3 separate regions of the Homo sapiens genome follow, and all the other regions are linked to region 1. The links are contacts of gene promoters, found by promoter capture Hi-C in blood cells and fetal thymus (Javierre and others, 2016). All regions are on one chromosome and are shown on one strand. Each heading gives the region's core, a stretch centred on a gene start or on the middle of the fragment in contact. The rest is flanking DNA. Distances are from core to core; before and after follow the strand shown.

What was found. The method cuts DNA at HindIII sites, captures the fragments that hold promoters and counts their contacts. A CHiCAGO score of 5 or more calls a contact.
Region 2: a contact is called between a fragment that was not itself captured here and the fragment with the promoter of UBR4 in region 1, in 1 of 17 cell types (fetal thymus). The highest score is 5.7, in fetal thymus.
Region 3: a contact is called between a fragment that was not itself captured here and the fragment with the promoter of UBR4 in region 1, in 1 of 17 cell types (neutrophils). The highest score is 5.8, in neutrophils.

Annotation. Positions count from the first base shown.
Region 1 is chr1:19,208,430-19,211,920 of GRCh38, reverse strand. It overlaps UBR4 (ubiquitin protein ligase E3 component n-recognin 4), which reads left to right and starts at 1,655. Exons shown (of 106, transcript NM_020765.3): 1 at 1,655-1,848. The coding sequence starts at 1,673. It overlaps EMC1-AS1 (EMC1 antisense RNA 1), which reads right to left and starts at 1,535. Exons shown (of 2, transcript NR_135114.1): 1 at 1,362-1,535. RefSeq lists silencers at 571-640, 1,666-1,985 and enhancers at 1,266-1,315, 1,566-1,615. The HindIII fragment of the contact is 5,774 bases long and covers 990-3,491 here.
Region 2 is chr1:18,958,519-18,962,009 of GRCh38, reverse strand. No RefSeq gene overlaps it. Among named protein-coding and RNA genes, the nearest start is that of IFFO2, 3.6 kb to the right of the region's middle. The HindIII fragment of the contact is 4,369 bases long and covers 1-3,491 here.
Region 3 is chr1:19,343,130-19,346,620 of GRCh38, reverse strand. It overlaps CAPZB (capping actin protein of muscle Z-line subunit beta), which reads left to right. Exons shown (of 9, transcript NM_004930.5): 7 at 1,369-1,434; 8 at 2,187-2,263. Among named protein-coding and RNA genes, the nearest start is that of SLC66A1, 33 kb to the right of the region's middle. RefSeq lists an enhancer at 2,149-2,198. The HindIII fragment of the contact is 1,337 bases long and covers 951-2,287 here.

The DNA.
Region 1 (3,491 bases), core at 406-2,905:
GGAAGGGAGGACAGCAGATACATTTGATCTTTTATTTCCTGAAATTTCTCCAAGACAGCTTTTGCAGATTAATTTTGTCCTCTGGTTAAAATAAAATTCATGTCCCAAAGCCATTATAAAATTCTGGGTCTCCAGCCTTTCCTTAGGGCTCTGGTTCAGTATCTTGAAATACTGCAATATTTATAGTGTTATGGAAAGTTCTTTTTCATTTCTGATGTTTTTATGTTTAAGAAACTTGCTGTTATTATTATCCTCTGGTAAGTAGGCACTGAAGGAAAATCCCTACTGCTGTCATCAAAGCCACATTTTCCTCCAAGACCGGCTTTGACTTGACTGAATTTTATTTCGAATGTAAAGATGCAGGCTGGGCGCAGTGGGTCAAGCCTGTAATCCCAGCACTTTGGGAGTCCAAGGTGGGAGGAACCTAGGACTTCGAAAACAGCTTGGGCTACGTAGGGAGACCTGTCTCTTAAAAACAAACAAAAAAAATTAAGAGTGGTGGCCTGCACCTGTATAGTCTCAGCTACTGGGGAGGCTGAGGCTGGAAGATCACTTGAGCCAGGGAGGTGGAGGCTGCAGCCAGCTGCAACTCTGCCACTGCACTCCAGCCTGGGCTATTGGGCGACAGAGCAAGATCCTGTCTCAAAAAAGGTAAAGTAGGTCATATCTTAATAAAAGTGCAGATTAATCACTAGGTACCAATTCATTTATCAGTGTTACACACCAAGAACAAAAGCTCTTCCTAAACTTAGGGGGAGAATTTCAGGGCTTTAGGAATTTGAAACCGTCTTCACAGTTCCTTCCCAGTCTTATTTAGGCCAGCTGTAGGCCACAGGCTAGAGCTTGAAGCCGTCCACCAATATCTCACTCACAGGACTGTCCTTAATGCACGAATACCTTTCCTCGAGCAAACTGCTTTTCCCTCTTAGACCTTGTAGCCAGATCATTTTACCGGCAAAAGTCTCAGACATCTCCTGTGAATAAAAGCTTACATTCTTTCCTTGCCAGTAGAAAAAAGGGGAACACGTAAGCATACGTGGCAAATTGCAAAGAGGGATGCATTGTACGAGCTGGTCAGATTGTTAATGAGGGCAATCCAAACAGAAGAGATTTGAGTGCTAAGGGAATACGGATCAGTGATTAAAAGGTGTTGTGAGAGGGAGAAATCTTTGTAAACTATGGCGCTCTTTAGTATTACTATTGGGGGGATCTAGGCAGGGGAAGAAGCAGGTGAAAGCGTTTTAGGCTTCGGCCTCCTCTTGTCGTCCTTAGCTGTCCCAGGCCAGGGCCATTCTATACGCCGAGGCGTAGTCAACTCTGCTGCCCTAGACTTGCCCACTGAACCCATGCCCCAGACTCACCTTTACCCGCTGCCCGGAAGCCAAGTCGCTACCACCTGCTTGAGCAACTCCCACCGCGCAGGCTCAGAAGTTAACGCTCTCCCGCCTTTCCCCGCTGCGCTACCTTCTGAGCAGGCGCAGCGTCTCCGATCCGTTCCCTCGCCGCGGCTCGACCCCGGTGAGAGCAAAGGCCGCTCCGCGCGTCGCGTTTTTGACCCATGACGGCGGCGCGCAGTCTGACGCGACAGATTGCGTCACTTCCGCCCCCTCCTGGGAGGCGGCGCTGGGCCGGTGGCAAGCCCCCGGAGGGAGCCGCAGTAGTACGACGGAAGATGGCGACGAGCGGCGGCGAAGAGGCGGCGGCAGCGGCTCCGGCGCCGGGGACCCCGGCAACGGGGGCGGACACGACCCCGGGCTGGGAGGTGGCTGTGCGGCCCCTGCTGTCCGCGTCCTACTCCGCCTTCGAGATGAAGGAGTTGCCGCAGCTGGTGGCCTCAGTCATCGAGAGGTACCGGGCGGCGGCTCTGGCGGGCGACGCTGTTGTGGGGGGAGGGGATTTCGAGCCGGATCGTCTGGACCCGCTTTCCGGGCCGCCCCCTGCCCCCTTGAGGATCCCCGCCACAGCCACGGCTTCGGGGTCCCGGGCCCGGGGAGACTGGCTTGCCTGGGTTTCCCTCCGCCAACGCATGTAAATCACCTCTACCTCAGTTTCCCCTCTCGAGCAAAACTTTAGCGGCCTCCCTGCGGGAGGGCGTGGCCGGACATGGTTGAGAGTGAGATGCATTCGCCCTCTTAAGGGAATGTTCACGGGGCTGCCCCTTGGGTCAAGTCACAGATGAGTTTGCATTTCTCGCCCGCACTCATCCTCCTAGCCTGGGCCGGAGCGGAGCCGTACGGTATAATTTAATAACGGTCTCCCCGCGGTGCTGTAATCAGTGGGGGCACGTGCTATTTCTGTGACTGAAGCCACTAGCTACATTGATGACCTCTTTTTACGTTGCACTCCTTGTGCATTCCTACTGTATCGGTCTTTGATTAAAAACATTTCAGTGTGTGTCTGAGAGATCATTTTCCCAGAGGATGTGTGGTGTGTGTGTTCTCTTGCTGCCTCCCATCCCCCTCGCATTAAAATATCATCACATTCTTTTACAAACGGTACTATCTGTTGGTTTCCTTTTGTGTGTTTTTGTCTTTTTGCACAGCGATTCTTAGCTAGTGACAGTTATGTAGGTACAAAGATGGTGATCTCAGAGTGCCTGCCTTTTCCTGACATACTGTGCTCAGAGCAGTCTTTCATTAGTTTAATGGTAGACTTTTGCTTTTAAAGCCAGACTGACTTTCATTTTTCTAGCCATACCTCATTTCAGCAACTCCCTGCAATTGTTAACTGGGTCATTTTAGCTTCACGATGACAAGGGTATATCTAGCTGCTATCCAGAGGTTAAAAATTGCTATTTGTTACTCAAAGGAGGCCCACGGTTTGACAAATTGTTTTTGTGCTTTTTCTTGTTGTAGACTTGTAATCCTTTGGATGCAGAGTTTTTAACAAATTATAATAAAATAATGGTTGAGTTTGGTAACTTCACAGTCAGCTTTACAGACGGATTTTGCTATCTAATCATCAGGCCAGGAATGTTCTGAAGATGTAAACAGGTTTCAAATATACTACTTTCAAATTACGTGGCTGCTTTTTGTTTTAAACATTTGGATTGGCAGTATTTTTCCTGACTCATACTCATGTTACGTAGAATCAGTAACGTTCCAGTCTTTTTAGAGCATTTGCTTTTATGTTTTTCTGGACATGAGCTGGATAGGTTATAAAATATTAATAATTTGTTGACACCCTTCCATAAATCCTGTATTCTGGGGCCACCTTTAAAGCTGTAATACTTAAGGAACACCCTCCAACCAAATACATCACTAGGTTTGAATTTTGCCATGTATGTGGTAGTGGTCTTTGCCATACCCTCTGTTTGTACAAATAATCAAGAGTTGTATTTGTAGACATTAATAAGATCTCTCTTTATGGCTTAGAAAATAAGTCCAAACTGATGGGTCTTTGGTAACGCATTTATTGGAAGGCAAGATCTCTTTTTTTTTTTTTTTTTTTTTTTGAGATGGATTCTTGCTCTGTCACCCAGGCTGGAATGC
Region 2 (3,491 bases), core at 535-3,034, 250 kb after region 1:
TTAACATTTATTGAGCATTGCTGGCATCGATTGAGCATTTATCGAACATACTGACTTTCCATGTATGAACTCACTTAACCCTTACAACCACCTTTTTTTTTTTTTTTTTTGGAGGCAGTCTCACTCTGTCACCCAGGCTGGAGTGCAGTGGCAAGATTATAGCTCATTGCAGACTCTACCTCCCAGGCTTACATGATCCTCCCACCTCAGCCTCCCAAGTAGCTAGGACCCCATAGGCATGTGCCACCATGCTCAGCTAATTTTTAAAAAATTTTTTTTGTAGAGATGGGGTCTCACTACGTTGCCCAGGCTGGACTCGAACTCCTGGGCTCAAGCGATCCTCCCACTTCGGCCTCCCAAAGTCCTGGGATTATAGGTGTGAGCCACTGCACCAGGTCAGATATTCTTTTTTTTATACCAGGTCTCACTCTCACCCAGGCTGGCCTGGAGTGTAGTGGTGCAATCTTGGCCTCTGGGGGTTCAAGTGATTCTTGTGCCTCAGCCTCCTGAGTAGCTGGGACTACAGGCACATGCCACCATGCCCAGCTAATTTTTTTGCATTTTTACTAGAGACGGTGTTAAGCCTTTGGCCAGGCTGGTCTCAAACTCCTGGTCTCAAGTGATCCACTCGCTTCGGTCTCCCAAAGTGTTGGGATTACAGGTGTGAGCCACTGCACCTGGCCCCAGGTCAGATAGTCCTATAGTCTTATTTCCAGATGAAGAACTGAGTACAGAAAAGGAAAAATTAAAACTATTGAAATTTAAAAAGAGATCATTTATAAAGAGGAACAAACTACTGATACATGCTACCACATGGATGAGCCTCAAAGACATTGTGCTCAATGAAAGTGGCCAGACACAAGAGATCACATATTGTAAAATGTCATTTATCTGATATATGTAGAAAAGGCAACTCCATAGAGACAGATCCCAGATTAGCGGTTGTCTGGGGCAGGGGGTAGGAGTGGGGATGATGAAATATTCTAAAACTGGTTTATAGCGTTGTTTGCACAACTTGGTAAATTTATTAAAAACCATTGACATGGGTGAATTACATAATATGTAAAATATTCCTCAATAAAGTAAAAAAAAGAAATGCAATTACGTTCTGCAAATATAACATTTCCTAAGCAGCCATGATCCACTTTACAGGAATTTCTCCAGTAACTAACAGCTCATTCATTTGTTCACCTGAACTCATCTTTGTTGAGCACCTATTATGTGCCAGGTACCATGCCAGGATATGGGTTCCAGGGTGAATCTGATCAAGTGCTTCTGCTCTAATAGAGAATATGGGTTAGCAAGTGTTAGAAGGCTGGGCTAGAAGGGGTGGAGATGCAGATGAGAAATCCAGCAATGACAAGAGCGTATACTTGGGGCTGCCACAGGGTGGGCAGTGCTGGCAGAGCCTGGAGGAAGCACCCTCCACCCAGACCTGGCAGGTACTTGAGAAGGTTCCGAGAAGAGAAGTTTCCGAGAAGAGAAGGTTCCGTGCTTGAGGCTGGGACCTGAAGGATGAGGAGTTGTTAGCAGGTGAAATGGCTGGGGAGTGGGGCAGGAAGAATAAAAGTCATTTTCTCATTCATTTCTTAATTCTTTTATTCATTCATTCAGCAACTGTTCATTGAGAGCAGTTATGCCCATTTCCCTGATGAGGAAATAGAGCCTCAGAGAGGTAAAGTGACTTAGATACAAACCTTAGCCAATCTCTTGTCTTAAAAGCCCACCTTTTTCCACTCCCCACTCTTGCCTCCAAAAACAGTCTGGACAGGTTAGACACACCGCTGTGACTTTGAGGGTCAAGGGGAGGTACCCTGCCAAAAAACAAAAACCTAATTATCCTTGTTTAGTGAGAGGAGGCTGGCGTCCCCCACAGGGATGTTCCTTTGTCTGTTGGAACTCTTCCGCTGCCTTGAGGACCCACCTTTAGCCCCCTTTGGATCTTGAATGGGGGAGCCAGCCTGCCAGTGTCTGGGGTTAAGGGGAGGAGACCACTGAATTCATTGTCTGGGCCAGGGAGGACCTACCATTGGAAAGGGAATGGGACCAGAATTCCAGACCAGGCTTTGATACCAATTATTCAGGAGACCTGGGTCAGTCCTTACCTCTCTGTGGTCCTCAGTTTTCTGGTCCCTGAAACAAGAAATCTGGGCTGGCTGTATCCTGAACTATAGGACTTCTGGCCTCAGATGCCTCCAGATTGATATGGGCTGGAAGTAGGGTGACACATTTGTTCTGATTTGCTCGTTCTGATTTACTTTCCAGGTTTTAGCATCAAGAGAAACCTTCTCAGTTCCTGATAAATTGGGATGGTTGGTCACCCTAGCTGGAGGACTGTTAGGTTAACCTAACCTCACATTTTACCCACAAAGAGCAAGACACGCAGCACCCGCCTTTATTCCTATGTGGCCACGAAGCTATTTTCAAGCCATTTTGTTTGCACATATCATGTTTCTAGGGTTCAGCTGAAAACCCTCTCAGGTCCAGCTACCACTTCCCTCAATTCCTTCAGATCTTCTGGGCTCTGCTTGGCCATCTCCTTTTCCCCCCTCTGCACCCACTCCCATGCCTCAGGATGGTCTTTTTTGGTTGTCTCCATCAGCTCCCCTGGAGCCCCTTTAGCTCCTTCCTCTGCATTTAATGCAGGATTTGTGCCGAAGCAGGTGCTCCACAAGTCATCACGGAAAGTCTGAATATCTCCAGGGCCCAGGGCAGGGCTGCCCCCACCCTCAAGGAGGGCTGCACACCCCAATTCCAGGGCAACTTTGTTGGAAGGACAGATCCTTCCTGGAAGAGGTTGCAGGGAGCCACTCCCCAGGTGTGACTTCTTAACCCTTTCTCTTCCATGGGACCACTCAGGCATTGGGTGGAGCCTGTGGACCCCTTCTGAGAATAATTTTTTTAAAAAGGCATTAGGATTACTATGAAAAGTCATTTTACTAAAAATAGATATCAAACTATTAACAATTTCTCATATAGTAACATACGTTCTCTTTTACTAATACATTAAATAAGATTTAGTGGTCGGTCTAATATGACTTTAATTTCACAGTTCTCGTAGCTTAGATGATATCTTGAGATGTTTACAATAACTGTAGTGTGTTACATAAATACCTGTGATTTCTACTAGTGACAAAATCACAGGGACATCTACTTGCTGCCTACATTCATAATCAAAGGATATGTTAAAAACCATTGGCTGGGCACGGTGGCTTACGTCTGTAATCCCAGAACTTCGGGAGGTCAAGGTGGGCGGATCACCTGAGGTTGGGGGTTCAAGACCAGCCTGACCAACATAGAGAAACCCCCATCTCTACTAAGAATACAAAAAAATTAGCCGGGTGTGGTGGCGCATGCCTGTAATCCCAGCTACTTGGGAGGCTGAGGCAGGATAATCTCTTGAACCCCGGAGGTGGAGGTTGTGATGAGCCAAGATCGCACCATTGCACTCTAGCCTGGGCAACAAGAGTGAAACTCTGTTTCAAACAAAC
Region 3 (3,491 bases), core at 370-2,869, 130 kb before region 1:
GTGAGAAGCAACAGAGCCCGTACCCTCTGAGACAGTATCTCCCCCCAGACTCCACCCTGTTCTCCTGGTTCCAAAGAGAGGAACCCACCTTTTGCTGGTTTTTCTTCTGTGGGCCTGGTCTCATTTTGAACTCTACCCTTTCTTTTTTTTTTTTTTTTTTTTTTTTTTAGCTTCTCTCACAAATTTTATTTTATTTTAATAAAGCTTCAAAAATTATAAATAATGTCTAAGCAGATTTAGAATCTCAACAATAAATGCTTAGCCTTAGAGTACTGCATTTTTGTATTATAATTTGATGGCCACTTCTTGCATGGTTTCTACTCTACCCTTTCTGATGCTGTTCTTTTCTTCCTCTTTCTTGATTATTTATTTCAGCTTCCACATTTTATTTCAACAACATTAGTCATCGTAGCTGCGTATTCCTGTTTTCAGTGTAGTAACGTTGAGCATTTATGTTCCTAGCACTCTTCCAGGTACCCTGTGCGTTATGAGGCAGGCACATCTCTCCTGAAAGAATTTATATTCTTGTCAGGGAAATAAGGCTTCAGATAAGAAAAAATTCGGGGGAAAGTGCCGAATTCCTTCTACCCTAACCTGCCTCCATTTCCTCCCTCCTCCGAGTTGAGATGATTGGGTCAGAGCCAGCTCTTCCTGGGCTTGGGAAGAGGAGATGGGGCTTGAGTGCTGCTGCCCCCCTCATAACCTCAGAGTCTATATTGAGACTCTCTTGCTCAAACTCTCCTCGCAGAGTAGAACGAACAGGCCCTGGTGCGAGGAAGGGTTTGACCCAGGCTCTGCCATTGCCACCTGCATGACTAGGGTGAGCCACTGAATCCCTCTGGCCTGAAGTCTCCGTCAGAGGTTGTCTGTCCCTCCCTGCGAGACTGCAGCAGATGGCACCCCAAAGCCACCATTTGGGAGCGCCAGGGCGCAGCAGCAGCACAGAAGCTTCCCCTGCAGTGTCAGGCCCTGAACCTGGGGTGGATGGCCCAGCGTGGGCCTGGGCCTGCCAGTAGAGGCCTGAAGACAAACCGAGTGAGTCTTCTCCAGTTGGCTCGGGTGAGCTGGTGCCTGCCAAGGGCTGCTGCTGTGGCTCTGGGCATCTGCCTGCTCTACCATGGGCAGCAGCAAAATCTTCTCCCTTGGAAGTGGGACTCTGGGCTTCTGCCCTCTGGGCTCTTTATGGTCTGAAACTGAAGTCGGTTTGTGCTTCAGTTCCCAGGCTGCAAAACTGGCCTTGTCATACCTGCAGCTGGCTCCACGGTGGGAACAGTAGGCTCTTTGCAGACCGTGGAGGTGGGGTGGGCTGTCTGCCGTTCTCAGAAATCTCTGGCTTTCTCTGACTTGGAATGTTTCTGTCTTTTGCAGATGGAGAAGGATGAAACTGTGAGTGACTGCTCCCCACACATAGCCAACATCGGGCGCCTGGTAGAGGTGAGTGACCTGGGCTCTGGCTGGCTCCTGCAGTGACCCACAGCAGTGACACTGCAGCCCCGGAGCCGCTGTGCTGGCCTCCTTCTCTGCTGCTTTCTCTCAGCTCCACCGCAGCCGGCAGAGCGCTTCTTGGATTTTGCCCTGGCCTCATATTTTTGGAGCCTCTGATTTGGATGCCAGCAGGCTCCAGCTTCAGGGCCACCTCCTGCTCCACCCCCAGACCTGGGCTCCCAGAAGACTGCTCAGGCGCTGGCTCTGGGGCGCACTAGGTCTTGTCTCCCCTGATCGCCTGGGTGTGAACAGGGCCCTGCGCTGGGAGAGGAAGCAGATCCCAGGAATGCCAGTGGGCCCTGGTGTGGCTTCAGTTGCGGCTGCCTTGGCCCTCCTGTCACCACGTTGTTTGGGAAGGCAGGGAGGTGCTCTCGGGTTTCACAGAATTGTTCACAAAATTAGTGGGGAGCCCAAGGGGTGGTGATGTGGTTTAGAGCAGCTCCCAGGCATGGGCAGAGCTGGCCGCCAATCCCTGGGTACTGGCTTCCTCCCTGCCTGTGGACTGTGGATGGGAAGGTGCCGGGAGCACAGATGGCAGGTGGGGTCTTGGCAGCCTGGAGCGCGCTCACTGATGCCCCAGAGCAGGCGTGTGCCACCCTCCAGTGGCCACACTGGGGACTGCAGGGCTGGCAGGTGGAGGGAGGGCGTGGGCCTCAGGGTTCCTGACCTTTTGCCACTGCGCTGACCGACCTCCCTTCCAGGACATGGAAAATAAAATCAGAAGTACGCTGAACGAGATCTACTTTGGAAAAACAAAGGATATCGTCAATGGGCTGAGGTAATGTACCAGAAAGCACAAGCTTTAGAAGCAGACAGAGGGATTTGAACCCTGGCTCTGCCAGTTACTAGCTGTGTGGTCTTGGGCCTCGGTGTCCTCATTGGTAGGCTGCAGTGCCCCTCTTCTGGGATGATCATTATGTTGATTTTGGAAAGTAAAGTCCTGATGTGTCATCTGCACTCTCCGTAGCAGCTGTCGGTCCCTATCTGCACCATTTGTTTTCTGGGGCATGTTCACCCTAACAGCCATTGGTGCCCTTGCCCCCGGAGCCTCCTCAGCCCTGCAGTTTGTCAGTCCCCGCTCAAAAATCTCCCCACCCTCCAGCCTGGGCCTAGGGGAGCCATGACACCACATTCCGGGCAGCCCGGCTGCCTCTGGCTGGCCTGCTCTCCGAGACAGCAGAGCGCAACGTGCAGGCAGGGCCCTCAGTCCGGGCCTTCTCAGGCCCCCAGCCTCCCTGACGCCACATGCAGGCAGGGCCCTCAGCCTGGGCGTTCTCAGGGGGCCCCAGCCTCTCTGACGTCCTCTGCCAGGGCTCTGCTGCCAGTGGCCAGTGTCCTGCACCATCCTTCCCACCTCGTGCCCTCAGCTCTGCAGTGTCAGCCCAAACAAAAGCCGGGCGCTCTCTGGACCCTCCAGGTCCACGGCGGACAGAGCAGGAGGCAGGCCTCTGACATGAGGCCAGAGCCCAGCTGGGGGCAGTAAACGGCTGTGGAGGGAGCACTGGCCTTGGAGTCAGGAGAGTCAGGAGGCCGGGATCTCCCCTAAGCTCTGTCATCCCGAGCTGCATGGCCTCTGGCACTCCTCGCAGAGGCCCTTGTCCAGTCGAGGAGGCACGGTCGGCTGAGATGATGAATCTAGAACACGCTCTGCAGTCCAGCAGCACCGTGTGAGTCGGGCTGTGCTATGCCTTTAGCGGCCAGCCCTCTCACCCACTGCCGTGGTGTAGCTCTCACAGCCCAGCCCAGAGGAGAGGCAGGCTGCAGTCCCGGGGCTGCCCCAGCTCGTGGACTGGGGTGGGCGACAGATTTCAGTCACCTGCTTTACAGTTTTAAAACAGAGGAGGAGTCCTCTTTGGACCCTTGTCTTCTGATCCCCTGCCCACCTGGGGGAGGCTTGGTCTTCGTGACCTGTGACAGGGTTAGAGCCCAGTGGTCCCTGGCGTTAGGCCTGCCACTGGCAGCCACTGCCCGATACACCAAACACACTTTCCCGCCCAGCCAACCTG